Regions from separate parts of the Homo sapiens genome. Here region 2 is linked to region 1. The links are contacts of gene promoters, found by promoter capture Hi-C in human tissues and cell types (Jung and others, 2019). All regions are on one chromosome and are shown on one strand. The core of a region is centred on a gene start or on the middle of the fragment in contact, and the rest is flanking DNA. Distances in the headings are between cores, read along the strand shown. Region 1 holds the start of MYO1A (myosin IA). Region 2 holds the start of STAC3 (SH3 and cysteine rich domain 3).

What was found. The method cuts DNA at HindIII sites, captures the fragments that hold promoters and counts their contacts. A contact is called where the count stands out against the background at its distance.
Region 2: a contact is called between the fragment with the promoter of STAC3 here and the fragment with the promoter of MYO1A in region 1, in 2 of the 25 tissues and cell types used here (adrenal gland and aorta).

Annotation. Positions count from the first base shown.
Region 1 is chr12:57,045,584-57,052,688 of GRCh38, reverse strand. MYO1A (myosin IA) reads left to right here and starts at 2,560. Exons shown (of 28, transcript NM_005379.4): 1 at 2,560-2,802; 2 at 4,346-4,479; 3 at 4,585-4,700; 4 at 4,968-5,062; 5 at 5,282-5,386; 6 at 5,582-5,628; 7 at 5,763-5,826; 8 at 6,039-6,137. The coding sequence starts at 4,366. RefSeq lists an enhancer at 4,639-5,838. The HindIII fragment of the contact is 15,407 bases long and covers 1-7,105 here.
Region 2 is chr12:57,249,352-57,256,456 of GRCh38, reverse strand. It overlaps STAC3 (SH3 and cysteine rich domain 3), which reads left to right and starts at 5,270. Exons shown (of 12, transcript NM_145064.3): 1 at 5,270-5,464; 2 at 6,820-6,886. The coding sequence starts at 6,821. R3HDM2 (R3H domain containing 2) reads left to right here. Exons shown (of 24, transcript NM_001394031.1): 22 at 1-43; 23 at 383-467; 24 at 1,344-2,693. The coding sequence ends at 1,684. The HindIII fragment of the contact is 9,667 bases long and covers 1,134-7,105 here.

The sequences.
Region 1 (7,105 bases), core at 1,311-3,810:
GCACTTAGCTTGTTGCCTGGCACATCTTAGTCCAGTCTAAGTATGATAAATGTTATTAGTACCAGATAGTTTATGAGAGCCGAGAAGACCCTCTACCACCAAATGTCTTCCTCACCATATCTGAAAATAGCTGCCTTTTTATTGTGTAACATCTTTTTAAAAGTTAGTACCTGTGGGAAGATTAATGAGTGAATTGGCTTAATCAGATTGCTGCCTTCCCAATTTGTCAGAAATCAGCACCAAATGATTTGGAATTTTTTTTTTTTTTTTTTGAGACGGAGTTTTGCTCTTGTTGTCCAGGCTGGAGTACAATGGCGTGATCTCGGCTCACTGCAACCTCCACCACCCGGGTTCAAGCGATTCTCCTGCCTTAGTCTCCTGAGTAGCTGGGATTACAGGCACCCGCCACCATGCCCGGGCTAATCTTTTTTGTATTTTTAGTAGAGACGGGGTTTCACCATGTTGGCCAGGCTGGTTTCGAGCTCTTGGCCTGAAGTGATCGGCCCGGCTCAGCCTCTCAAAGTGTTAGGATTACAGGCGTGAGCCACTGCACCCAGCCTAGAATTTTTTTTTTTTTTTTGCCAGTTTTATTGAAGTACGATTTACATAACAATATAATTTGCCAGTTTTAAGTGTACAAATTTGCTGAGTTTTGACAAATGGAGACAGTTGTATAACCACTACCACAATCAGGATATAGACCATTTCTGTAACCCCAAAAAGTTCCCTCTTGCCCCTTCCATGGTCTAGAAATGTTAATGGGGGAAAAAGGAAGGTGATTTAGGAGTCAAAGTAGAGGAAGACTAATACGCTCTGGTTGCTTCAGTTTTGCCTAGAAAGCAGGAGATTAGAAAATCCCAGCTGACTTGGATGTGTATTTCATATCTTGTTAATTTAGGCTGACCCACTGGCTCCAGTTTGCCTGGGACTTTCCTAGTTTTAACACTCAAATTCCCATGTCCAGAGAACCCCACTGTGTCCCACAGGCGGATCAGTACAGTTGGTTGCCCTAGCTGTGATGTTCATGTCATTGTTCTTACACCTGAGAGTGCCATCTCATTTTAGAGTCACTTTTCTCGTGAGTAAGCACATAGTAGGCACTCAGTTGACTGAATGGGTGGACATGCAGGTAAACCCCAGATGGCTGCAGATTCCTGGCCTAGAGAACATGAGACTTGGGTTTTGGTGCCAGCTCTGCCAGGTTTGCAGTGGTGTGACCCTGGAAAAGTGGTTTTCTCACTCTAGATCTGTTTCCTCCACTGGTAAATAGGTGATATTTGTCACTTCTGCCTCTAGGACATGGATACTGCTCCACCTACACATAGCATTATGTTTTGATGTCACTTCCACTCAGCTTTCTCTCTTTTCCTTGCCCCCCTCCACCTTCAAATATATGTAGTAGATCAATAAATTATGTAAAGGCAGGTTGATAATAGAACTGCTGATGTGCCAGGCTTACGCAGAGTGCTTCTGTGAGAGCCATAGAGTTTGGACCTTGCACCAAGCAGCCATAGCTGAGAGTTGGAGAATCAAGTCTCTCTTCAGTTAAGTGTCTATAATTACCTAATTTGTTCTTTCTGCATGCCTGGGAGAGAGGATGGTAGGCAGAGGGGGCTTGCTGTTTTTAGGAATTTTCCTGGCTGGATGAAGGGGTACTTCTTATCTATCAGAGGGAGCTATTACATTAGCTCAGGGTCTTACTCAGTATCCTAGTGCTGACGAATTAAAATTAGAAACTTCAGAACTTGGGCTGCAACTTTTGGCAAACTTAGGGAGCTGCATTCTGTTCCTGGTTCTGCCATGCACTAGCATGGAACTGTGGGCACATTGTGTAACCTCTCTGAGTCTGGTGTTTGTTCCTAGTTTTCCATTTTAATGGAGTATCTGTATTGCCTTCCTCGGGGTGGTGCTATTCAGTGAGGCAATGCAAGGGGGAGTTCAATGAAACTGGGACATCTATACACATGTGAGGTATTATTACTAATCACTTTAATCTTTGGGTCTCTATGATAGGGTCTGATTCATGGGGGAAGGGAAGTGGAGAAGAATTTGGGGATTTTGTCTGCTTAGCTCTCCAAGTAATCTCATTAACATCCCCTGACTCCCGATAAGATAGGAAGAGTAGGTATGAGGGAGGTACTGTTTTTTTGCTAGGAAGACACTCTTTGTAAAGACGTGTCTCGCCATGTTGCCTAGGCTGGTCTCGAACTCCTGGGCTCAAGTGATCCTCCCGCCTTGGCCTCCCAAAGTGCTGGGAGTATAGGCATGAGCAACCGCACTTGGCCCTACCTGTCCTTGACAAAATTCCTGACTTCTCTTTGGGAAATATTTTCCTTGGCTATAAATTCCATTCTTCCAGCTTTCATTTCCAAATTTGGGAGACAATGGAGCAAGAACCCTCCTTTAGTTAAGCCTCTCAGCTAACGCCAGCCAGATACCCTTTCCTACCTAGAGGGAGCTTGAGTGTCTCCCTCTGGGGCTTCAGGCCTGTGAAGGGTTAAGTGAGCCACACCCTCAGCAGGAACAGTCTGGACTTTGTGCTGATCAGCCATCTCCGGCCTCTCCTGGTTTGACTGGCACAGGGAGCCTGGGCTGGAAGAGGCAGCAAAAGGGAAAATCAGAAGAGTGGACACTGGCAAGAGGAGGGCAGCCTTTTTCCCAGCTTCCTTGCACCATGGACAGCTCCCATTAAGCCACCTCTCCATCCTGGGGCCAGGACTCTTATGCCCCATTCCTGTCAAATTGAGATTTCATCCACCATTCTCCAAGGACAGTGAAGTTATACCCTAGTTCCAGTGTTGGGTGAGTCCTGCCTTGACCTGTCACTGCTTCTCTTTAACACCTTGGGGCGCCCCATCTGGGGCCTCTTGCCTTTTTCCCTTCCCCACCCTCAACCAGTCACATTCCCACTCCCTTCAAATCCAAATCCAAAGAAGATGACTGCTCCCAACCCACCTTCTGCTTCTCACCCTTCCCTGCCAAGTTAGTTAAAAGACTTAGCTTTTTGTAAAATCTAGAAAATACAAAAATAGTATCTACTTCATGGGGATATTGTAAGCACTAAATGAATTAGTGTATGTACAGTGCTTAGAGCCCTGCCCAGTTCGTGGTAAACGCTGCATGATTCCTAGAGACTGCTATTATTGATATTCTTATTGCTTCCTCAGTTGTGTCCTTCTGGTAAGTGACAAGTGCTCTCTTTTCCTAGAGCTTGGGGAAAGCCAAGTGAAGGGAGAAGGAAGCCTGTGCCCCTTCTTGCCCCACTTCCGTTCCTCCTTCCTCCGCTCCTCCACCCGGGTTCAGAGATGCAATAGCATAGGAGGATGTGTCTCTTTCATTCCTGTTCAGGAGTGGCCTTGACCATTGTACTAATAATCCTGTCCTGTGCCTGGCCACTCTGCCTACTCAGTCTCACAGGAAAGACTGAGGAGGGCCAGGTTTCCTCCTTAGGGAACACCTGCCATGTGCCTACTGCATGGGGGCCAAGCCCCACCACCCTCCCTGTAGTTCCAACTGTGCTCCTCCTTGCCCACTCCCGCAAGAAGCTAGGTGTGTCCCTCTGGGGCAAAGTCCATGCCAGAAGTTTACAGGAGTGGGTGTAAAAGCTAGAGATGGAAAAATAGAGACAGACATGTAGCACATCCAGAGGTCCTGACAACTGCCTGTTTGTTGGGGAAGCAAACCCCACTTTCATTTTCTTTGGGAAATTCCAATCTCTTATGGAGGAATCCTGCCTCTATCCTCTATAATTCTGCCTTGTCAAGTTCCCATTTTAAAAATGAAGCTCACTGTAGCAATGACAGGGAAGGAGAGACCTTTGGAAGAACTTCTGAAATGGTTATGGGTAGGTTGGGTGTCTTTAATAGGGGCTGTGAGAGGTAAGGTGTTGAGAAGAAGCACTGGGGGTAGATGGGGAGTCTGGACCCTGGCCAGGGCCCATTGTAGGAGAGAGAGGGCTTTCTGTACCTGGCGGCAGCACAAGTCTTTGCTTACACTTTCCTCCTCAGCCCTCTCTCCTTCAGTCACAACTCTGCTCCCCCAGTTGTAGCCCACTGGGTGCCTGCCTTCCCCTGGTGGTCAGAGGAAGGTGTTCCTGTTCCACCCCTGCCCCACCCCCACCAACTGTAACCCAGGCAGCAGAGGATCTCCCCCACCTCCTGCTGAGAGTTTCAGCCTCCCTATTAGCTTGGGCTGGTCCAGAGGCCTCTCCTAGGTTGGGGGCTCTCTTTAGGGCCAGGGTAGGAAGAGAGGAAGGCTCTTTTGGTCCTTCTGCCATCCTCCCCTCAAACAGTTACTGGCCCCTAAAGCTGAGTGGACATCAGCAAACTGTGCCTCTTATTCCCAGGATCAGTGGCCCCTCTGGACATGCCTCTCCTGGAAGGTTCTGTGGGGGTGGAGGATCTTGTCCTCCTGGAACCCTTGGTGGAGGAGTCACTGCTCAAGAATCTTCAGCTTCGCTATGAAAACAAGGAGATTTATGTGAGTGTCATATGGGTGCCTCTGGCTGTGGATATGTGGCTGGAGAGGTCACAGGCTCCCACCTCACCCTCAAGCTCATTCCCTTCACCTTCTTCCTGGCTCCAGACCTACATTGGGAATGTGGTGATCTCAGTGAATCCCTATCAACAGCTTCCCATCTATGGGCCAGAGTTCATTGCCAAATATCAAGACTATACTTTCTATGAGCTGAAGCCCCATATGTGAGTAGGGGGACCAAGGGAAGGCTGACAGGGCCCCAGCTTCTTGACACTGAGTCATCCTAATTTCCTTTGTCCCTTCCCCTGAAGGGGCTTCTCCAGCTGCCCCTTCCTTCCCTGGCCTTCTGGAGGCCCCTTCCAAGGCCTGTCACATCTTGCCCAGTCTGCTCCAAGTAGAGAGAGTGGATGAACCTGCGTGCTGGAGATTGAGTGAAAGATGGTGTCTTGAACTGGTTTCACAATAGTCATTGCCCACTTCCTCCCCACAAGCTACGCATTGGCAAATGTGGCGTACCAGTCACTGAGGGACAGGGACCGAGACCAGTGTATCCTCATCACAGGCGAGAGTGGATCAGGGAAGACTGGTGAGGCCCCTGGCTGGGGGAACACATGGAGTCACCTCTGGAACTGCTTCCTTGTCTCTTTGCAAGCCAGACCTAGACCTGACCCTCCACCCCACAGAACTTCCTTTCCACTTTTTCTGACTCCAAGGGGTGGTGAGGCACTGGGGTGAAGCAAGTTAAGGAGGTGGGGGGATGGGCTAGTCCTGGGTGGGGACCCATGAGAGCGTTTTGCCTGCACAGAGGCCAGCAAGCTGGTGATGTCTTATGTGGCTGCCGTCTGTGGGAAAGGAGAGCAGGTGAACTCTGTGAAGGAGCAGCTGCTACAGTCTAACCCAGTGCTGGAGGGTGAGAATTCTGCTCTCTGCCCTCTCCACCCTCCATCTAACCCCCAGAATCACTGAGCCCTAGACCCTCTTCCCCAGTGCTGCAAAATCACCTCTCTTGTTCGACCCAGAAAAATCTGAGATTGTCATGAGGACTGGAAGCCCTTCCTCCTTTCCCTTCTCTAGAGTTTCACTTCTCCCCTCCTCATCTCTGTAGCTTTTGGCAATGCCAAGACCATTCGCAACAACAATTCCTCCCGATTTGTGAGTAAATGTCTCCCCACCTGGGAAGAGAGGATGTGGGGGCTTAAGAGGGAGGAATGTGGCACAGACCCCTTCCAGGCAGGGTGGTGAGAAGAGGAAGAAGCTAAGTCTCTCTCTCTGGTCTCTCTCTGAAGGGAAAATACATGGATATTGAATTTGACTTCAAGGGATCCCCCCTCGGTGGTGTCATCACAAACTGTACGTGTCTCCCCAATTCCACTCACCTGTCTTCCACCTGCCTCCCATGGCCCTTTCTGCTAATCTGTTCCTGTAGAAAGGCAGAATGTTAGACGTCAAGGAGACTTCCCAACCACTAGGAATGCCGGCGATGGGGGCATTCTCCAGTAGGGCTGGAGAAGCTACGGCATCTCCCAGGCCCTCAGGATATTATTTTTCTAATTCTCTGCCAGATCTGCTTGAGAAATCCCGATTAGTGAAGCAGCTCAAAGGAGAAAGGAACTTCCACATCTTCTATCAGCTGCTGGCTGGAGCAGATGAACAGCTGCTGAGTATGTGCCTGCATGGGGAAAGTGTCCTCATGAGTGACACATGGCAAAGTCCCCAACCTCCATTCAGTCCCAGAACCCCTGTTCCCTCTGGGCCCCTACAGCCCTCTTCCCTTGAGCCTCCCAGATTTTCCTTGCTGCATTTCCCATTCTCAGCCTCACCCACTCATTGTTGGGAACAAATTCCTTTACCCCTGTGTTCTCTTCCTTTTCTGGGGTTTTATTGCCAGGGATATGCCTTCTTGCCTCTTCACTGTTCTCGTTCCTCTTTCCTGCCTGGGTTCTGCTTTCCCTGAGCTGGCTTCAAATATAAAACACTTATATCCATCTACTTTCCTTCCTACCTTCAACTTAAGGGGATTTAATTAAAGCAGGGAAGCAGGCAGAATGTTGTAAGTGTTCAGGAACTTTCAGTGAACTCTAGTTGAAGCTGTCCTGGGTCTACATCTGCCTTACCTAGGACCCTGTTCCTGATTTTCTTTTCATTCATTCATTCACTCATTCATTTATTCATTCATTCAACATCTCTTGAACACCTATGATCAAATATTATGCTAGCCTCTAGGGATACAGAGTTGAGTAAGACATGACCCTGTCCTCGAAGAACTTATAGTCTTCTAGGGATAAGAGGTGTGTGAGCAGATCCATTGTAATATTGTGTGATCGGGGCCATCAGGCCTGTGCAGCTGGCTATAAGAGCAGAAGACCTAGAGCCCCTTGGCTTGGCCTGGGGAAGGGTCCATCACAGCCTGGATGCTGGACTGGCCTGAAGTGGCTCTGGGTGGGCATCACTGGAGTGTCTGGTGGACTTTAAGCCCTACTGGAGTTTGCCTCCCAATCTCCTCTCTGGCTGTGAGCACCGTGGGTGTCTGGCCCCTAAGAATGTCTCTTTGGTTTCTGGTGATTCTATGATAGACCTGTGCTATCTCCTTTTCCACTCTTGGAGATCTCTGTGATCTTCAGGAACCCCT
Region 2 (7,105 bases), core at 4,021-6,520, 200 kb before region 1:
CCCTCCCTTGCTCCATGGCCAGTCAACTTACACGGTGCACCAGGTAAGGGTGTCCACCAGCAACTGTAGGGCCATCAGACCCCTCTTCTTATTTGGGTGCCTGTGTCTGAGCTTCAACCAGCTGGGTATACAAGGGAAATAACACAGAATGAACAAAGCAGGAGCCTTGCCCTACCTCCTATACTCATGTCTCCCACCCGACCCCCATGCCAAGAGGGAGGGGCTCTTTGTTTCTCAGTCGCTGCTCCATGGCCAACCTGACTGCCTAGTGGGGTGGGGTCCTCTGGGTTGGTGCTACTCCACAATCTCTCAGGCAGACATTCTGATGCAAGGCAGTCAATGTTGTTTACATGGGATGAGAGTCGTCTTTCAAATGTTGAAGGGACAGAGTGGACTGAAGCATGGAAACCGGGGCAAGAGACAAGCACTCAAATCTGCCTCCACTGACCTGGGGACAGCAGATGTTGGTGAGTCACGGGATGCTGAATCCCCAAGAGAAGGTGCCCACCCTTCCAGCGCTTAATTACCAGTCCAGCATGGGTGGGAAAAGCCAGCTTAGGATGGGGAGTGGAAGTGGGACCCTTTGTGCTCAAAAGCAAGCAGAAACTGGAGAAGTGAAGTATCTCAGTCCTCCCTACCAAGCCATCTCAGATTCTGAGGAAGATCATGGTAAAAAGTGGGAATAACACAATTATGGGAGTTGCCTCTTATTAACAAAGAGTTTTCTAATTAGTGTCCTGTCCCTAATCTACGACATCTACCTTTGGTAGTCCTAGACCCAGTTTAGGAGAAGATTGGTAGAGAATATGGGGGAGAAACTCTCGTCCTACAAGCCTCCCACTAGGTGAACAAGATCTGTCTTGGGATTTGGAGCAATTTCCTAAACAAGGAAAGGAAGGGAAACTTGACTTCCTGAGATGATAAGAAGGAAGAATCTATTTGAGCCAGCCTCTGAGTGGGAAGGGAACTATGGAACATATTTCAGATTGATACATTATTGTTAAAGAACATTAGCAAAAGCCACATTTTCTTCATAGCAGTAGCACCTTGTGAGAGAACTGAGGTATAGGTTCTTAGCTCAGAAACCCAGGATTCTGATTCCCTGTCCCTTCTTTCCTGTATCTCTGGGCTAGGAGAATAGAAAGGTTCATTTGTTTTTCTCCTAGTTGCCCTGATCAGAGCTGGGATGGTGGGGAGGGGAAGAAAGGGCTAAGAGAGAAAGGCCAGGCTTTTGAAGACATTGTATACAGACTTAGTCAGCTGGACACTTCTCTGCTGGGCTGCTGTCAAGTCCTTCCTGTCCTATTCCTCTCACAACCATGTCCTCTCTCCTCCCCTTCCAGTCCTGGGGCGGGTGCTGGAGGTGACAGATCTCCCTGAGGGCATCACCCGTACTGAGGCGGACAAACTCTTCACGCAGCTCGCCATGTCTGGCGCCAAGATCCAGTGGCTCAAGGATGCTCAGGGGCTGCCTGGAGGGGGTGGGGGGGACAACAGTGGGACTGCTGAGAATGGCCGCCACTCGGACCTCGCTGCCTTGTACACCATTGTGGCTGTGTTCCCCAGCCCCCTGGCTGCCCAAAATGCCTCCCTTCGTCTCAACAACTCCGTGAGTCGCTTCAAACTTCGAATGGCCAAAAAGAACTATGACCTGAGGATCCTGGAGCGAGCCAGCTCCCAATAAATGGAGGAGGGGAAAGGGACTGTCACAGAAGGAGCAAGGGCAGGGTGGAGGGGGTTGAAGGATCCTGACAGACCATGGACAGAGGCAGGAAGTAAGGAAACTGATGTTAAACTGGAACCTAAGACAGTGATGAAGATGGAAACACAGATACCTACACTGGCATTGGACTCCTTCTTGCTCCCCTGCCATGGGTCCTCTCTTTTTCCCTGGTTGACCCCCCTTGCATCACTCTTCTTCCCATCCTCTTCTTTTTTTTTTTTTTTTTTTTTTTGAGACGGAGTTTCGCTCTTGTCACCCCAGCTGGAGTGCAGTAGCACGATCTTGGCTAACTGCAACCTCCAGCTCCTGGGTTCAGGTGATTCTCCTGCCTCAGCCTCCCAAGTAGCTGGCACTACAGACACGCGCCACCATGCCCGGCTAATTTTTGTATTTTTAGTAGAGACGGAGTTTCACCATGTTGGCCAGGCTGGCCTCAAACTCCTGACCTCAGGTGATCCACCTGCCTTGGCCTTCCAGAGTGCTGGGATTACAGGCGTGAGCCACTGTGCCTGGCTTCCATCCTCTTCTATCATTTTTTTAAATCTCTTCTCCTATCATAAAATTAATTTCTCATTTTTTGGTCAGGTAGAATTGGGAAAGTCCCACACTGTCCTCCTATTACCTTAACATCCCAAGCTTCCTTTCCTTTTTTGGTCTTTATGAATATATTTATATGGACAGAATTAAGATAAACAAAATTGATTGCCCCATTCTCTCACTTCCCCATCTTGTCTTCCTAGACCCCACAGAGTTAAAACTTGGGATTCCCCTGGCCCCCCCAGAACACTTGTATATTGTTTGTTTGAGGTTCGTGCCGCAGTAACAGACACAGTATTTAATTGCACATACAGATGTTTGCTGGGTATATTCACTGTAAATTTTATTTAATCTGTTTTTTTGTTTGTTTGGGGGTTATTTGGGGGGAGGTTGGTTTTGTTTTTAAATATAAAAAAAAAAATCTGTCACTGGACATCAGTCACTGTTTCTCTGTTGCCGCCCTGGTATGGGTAAAGGGTTGGAGGCCCTGGGTAGGTATAGCCCTACAGCTGTTGGAGGTGTTTGTCGTGGGTTGGGATGGCTTTCTCTAGCATACGCACACTATTTTAACACCATTCCCTCTGTCTCATCCTCTTCCCTGTACACGGTTCTGATAGATGGCTAGATCTCTAATGGGACCATGGCTTTGGGCTCTCCCGGTTCTGCCACTGTGGTTCATCGAGCATATCACTTCTCAACTCTGGATCTGTGTCCAGATCAGTAAAATAAGAGACTTGGACTTAGTAGGTGACCTCTAGGTTTCCTTCCAGACTATTAATTCTGTGGTACTGTGTACTCATTTAGGGCCCTTGTAGTTGAGTTTTGAGATAGGGTCTTGCTCTGTCACCCAGGCTGGAGTGCAGTGGCAGATCTCAGCTGACTGCAGCCGCCTCCCGTGTTCAAGCGATTCTTGTGCCTCAGTCTCCCGAGTAGCTGGGATTACAGGCGCGATCTAGCATGCCTGGCTAATCTTTTTTTTTTTTTTTTTTGCTATTTTTGGCAGAGACAGGGTTTTACCATGTTGCCCAGGCTGGTCTTGAACTCCTGGGCTCAAGTGATCTCCCGCCTTGGCCTCCTAAAGTGCTGGGATTACAGGCATGAGCCACCACTCCCAGCCCAGCTCGTCTTCTGAAAACCCTTTAGGGATGGAGAACTTGGGCCTTTCTTTTTTTTTTTTTTTTGAGATGGAGTCTCGCCCTGTTGCCCAGGCTGGAGTGCAGTGGCGCGATATCTCGGCTCACTGCAACCTCCACCTCCCGAGTTCAAGCAGTTCTCCTGCCTCAGCCTCCTGAGTAGCTGTGCCCCATCGTGCCCAGCTAATTTTTGTATTTTTAGTTGACATGGGGTTTCACCATGTTGGCCAGGCTGGTCTCGAACTCCTGACCTTGTGATCCACCCGCCTCGGCCTTCCAAAGTGCTGTGATTACAGGCGTGAGCCACCGTGCCTGGCTGCCTTTCTTTAATCCTAAAGCTGGAGGATTGGGTTTTACCTGTCAGGGACAGAAGCAGATTTTTATTACAATGAAAGCTACAGCAACTGAACTCGCAGTGCCAAGATGCTGTATTATCCAAACATGCTCAGCAGTCCCTGTCCTATGTGGCTGAAAAAAGACGAAGAGCAGAAGTCATCTTGCCTGCAAGATGGAGCTTTTCCTTTAGAGCATCTCAAAGCAAGCCCTGTTGTTCTGCAGCCTGTCAGAGCAGGGCCATTAAAGAACCTGCAGAGTCAGAACCATCCTGCACCCCCTTTTCAAACTCCCCCCTTAAATAGAAAAAAGTAGTGGGTGAGAATGACAAAGCACGTTGCCCTGGAAATCTCTTGGGTCCAAGTAGCTGTATCCCTAACGACGATCCTACAGGAGCTTGCCTGACCCAGTCTCCAACACAGTCCTTTATTTCTTACAGATACAAGGAATAGAGCAGCACTGCATTGCCACCTCTAAATTGCTCTCCCCTGAGATGGGAGTATCTCCTCTTTCATCCATGTCACAGCCCAAAGAGTAGAAGGGTGCACCCCTGTGAGATGAGAATGGCATCTGTCTCTTTGATCCATCAGTTATATACTGAGGCATCAAAGGTGGGAGATGGAATCAGGGAATCAAAAGGGTTTAGGAAGTGTGAGGGTTGGCCATCCTACCTTTAAGAGTTTGCAGTTCTCATGAGGAAGGGGACATTACTTAGAAATGATTTAAAAAATTCCTTATGTGGCAGCTATATGCTTCTGTCCAGTGTTAACTGGCCCTTTTTAATAGCCCTGGTAATTCCCTTCAGTCTGAGGACAAAATTTTACAAGAAGGAGGGTGGGGAGATGTCTCTGGGAGCTGCTGGAGGGAATGAAGCAATACTACATATTCTTCACTTTCTTACAGGATAGCAAAGTACTCCTCCAACCACCTACAGATAAAAAGCAATCTAGCCATGCACGGTGGCTCACACCTGTAATCCTAGCACTTTGGGAGGCCAAGGCAGGCGGATCACCTGAGGTCAGGGGTTCGAGACCAGCCTGGCCAACATGGTGAAACCCCATCTGTACTAAAAATACAAAAATTACCTTGGCGTGGTGGTGGGCGCCTGTAATCCCAGCTACTTAGGAGGCTGAGGCAGGAGAATCGCTTGAACCTGGGAGGTTGCAGTGAGCCCGGATCGCTTCATTGCACTCCAGCCTGGGCAACAAGAGCAAGACTCTGTCTCAAAAAAAAAAAAAAAAAAGCCATCTAGTATGGCTGATAGGAGAGCTCTATGAGTTCAAATTAGTCTTTTTTTACCCTGTCTCAAAAAATAAATGAAAAATAAAAATAAACTCCCCTTAAATGTTAAATGAGCATGAACAGAAACTGTCCCTTCCTGAATTCAGCCATTATTCACCTGTTCGCCTTAGATGAAGAATCAAGGAACAGCAGCTCTAGGGGGTTGGGAGGAGTTAGGGTCCGGCCCTGCCCCAGACCTCTCAGTGTCCAATTTCTCTGTGTCAGCTGTGTTTCTCAGCTGTCCACTTTCCTCCAGCCCTGTCATTTCAGCCCTGACACCAAGGCAGGAGGCTAGGAGGTCTACAAATAGCGACTGGGTAGCTGGTGTGAACACAGGGGGTACTGGGGGGGCTTAGCCCCCAAGGAAGAGGACCAGTTTTTCCCCAGCACCACCATCAAGGCCTCGAGGCTCCCAGCTCCCTCTACAGCCTGTGGACTGACTTAGGGAATCCCGAACGTAAGTTACCTCTTCATCCTCTTGATTTCCACGACTGCTCACCCCAGCTGCCCTGATCTATAATCTACTCAGCTTCTTCATTTCTCTCCTTGTCTGTGAGTCTTTTGGGTTTTAGGCGTAAAATTATTATTCTACTCTAGGATGAGTTTGGATTGAAGCGGGGGGTGGGGGTGGGGGTGGGGTGAAGGGAATGAAGTAGTAAGGGAAGGAAAGGCTCATATTACCCTGAAAACTTAAAATAGCTGAGCCCTGAGGCAGGCTGGGACAGAACTAGGCACAGGGCCCCCAGGGCTCAAGAAAAAAGTAGGGGAGGACAAATGTCTCCAGTCCATCCTTCCTTGTGTGCACACGAGGACACACATTAAACCTCTTGAAGAGAGGAGATCTGGGAAGGTATGCATCACATCTCTGTTGCCCACAGATTTCCAGGAGAAACAAAGTACCTATAGGAAAATGACGTAAACCACGCAGCTTTGAACACTGTGTAAGGGCTGTAAACTATGGGGTCGCCCCTCAGGATGGAAGGATGAGTATCAGTTTGAGGAACTAATTGGGAAGCTCTTTAGTCTGTTGGGCTTTTTTTTTTTTTTTTTTTTTTTTTTTGAGACGAAGTCTTGCTCTGTCACCCAGGCTGGAGGGCAGTGGCACAATCCCGGCTCACTGCAACCTCCGCCTCCCGGGTTCAAGCGATTATCCTTCCTCAGCTTCCTGAGTGGATGGGATTACAGGCGTCCGCCACCACACCCGGCTAATTTTTATATATTTAGTAGAGATGGGGTTTCACCATGTTGGCCAGGCTAGTCTTGAACTCCTGATCTCTAGTGATCCGCCTGCCTCAGCCTCCCAAAGTGCTGGGATTACAGGCATGCACCACCACACCCGGCCATGTTAAGCTTTTTTCTAGACCTCCATGAAATCTGTTAATAAAACCTGCCAAAGGATCTGTATTTGGCCCAGTGCAGTGGCTCACGCCTGTCTCAACAATTTGGGAGGTTGAAACAGGAAGATTGCTTGAGCTAGTTCGGGACCAGCCTAGGCAACAAAGCAAGACCATGTCTCTACAAAAAATAAAAAAGTAGCCAGGTAGTGTGCACCTTGTGTTCCAGCTACTCAGGAAGCTGAGGTAGGGGGATCGCTTCAGGCTGGGAGGTCGAGGCTGCAGTGAGCCATGATCACGCCACTGCACTCCAGCCTGGGTGACAGAGTGAGACCCCATCTCAACAGTAACAACAGCAAAATCTCTCATCACATTTCTCCGAAAGCCTCCCCTTTGAGGACCACCCTACTGCAAGGGACAGAAAGGGAGAGAAGAATGAAAGGGATTAGATTTCATAGTGGGGTCCAACCTCTTGCAGGATGACAGAAAAGGAGGTGCTGGAGTCCCCTAAGCCCTCCTTCCCAGCAGAGACTCGGCAAAGTGGGGTGAGTCTGGGCCTCTGACCACTGGGTGTGGGGGGCTGGGAAGCCATTACAGCTGAAGAAGAGTGCTTAAATTGATCTCATTTGTGTGTGACTCATTTTTTGCTGGCCAGCACCTGCAGTCCCCAATACCAATACCCCCCTAATCCTGGGGTACATTCCTTGCCTGAAACTAGAAAACTGTCTAGTTTGCTCTAGCGCCCCCCTACTCTAGAGAGGGTG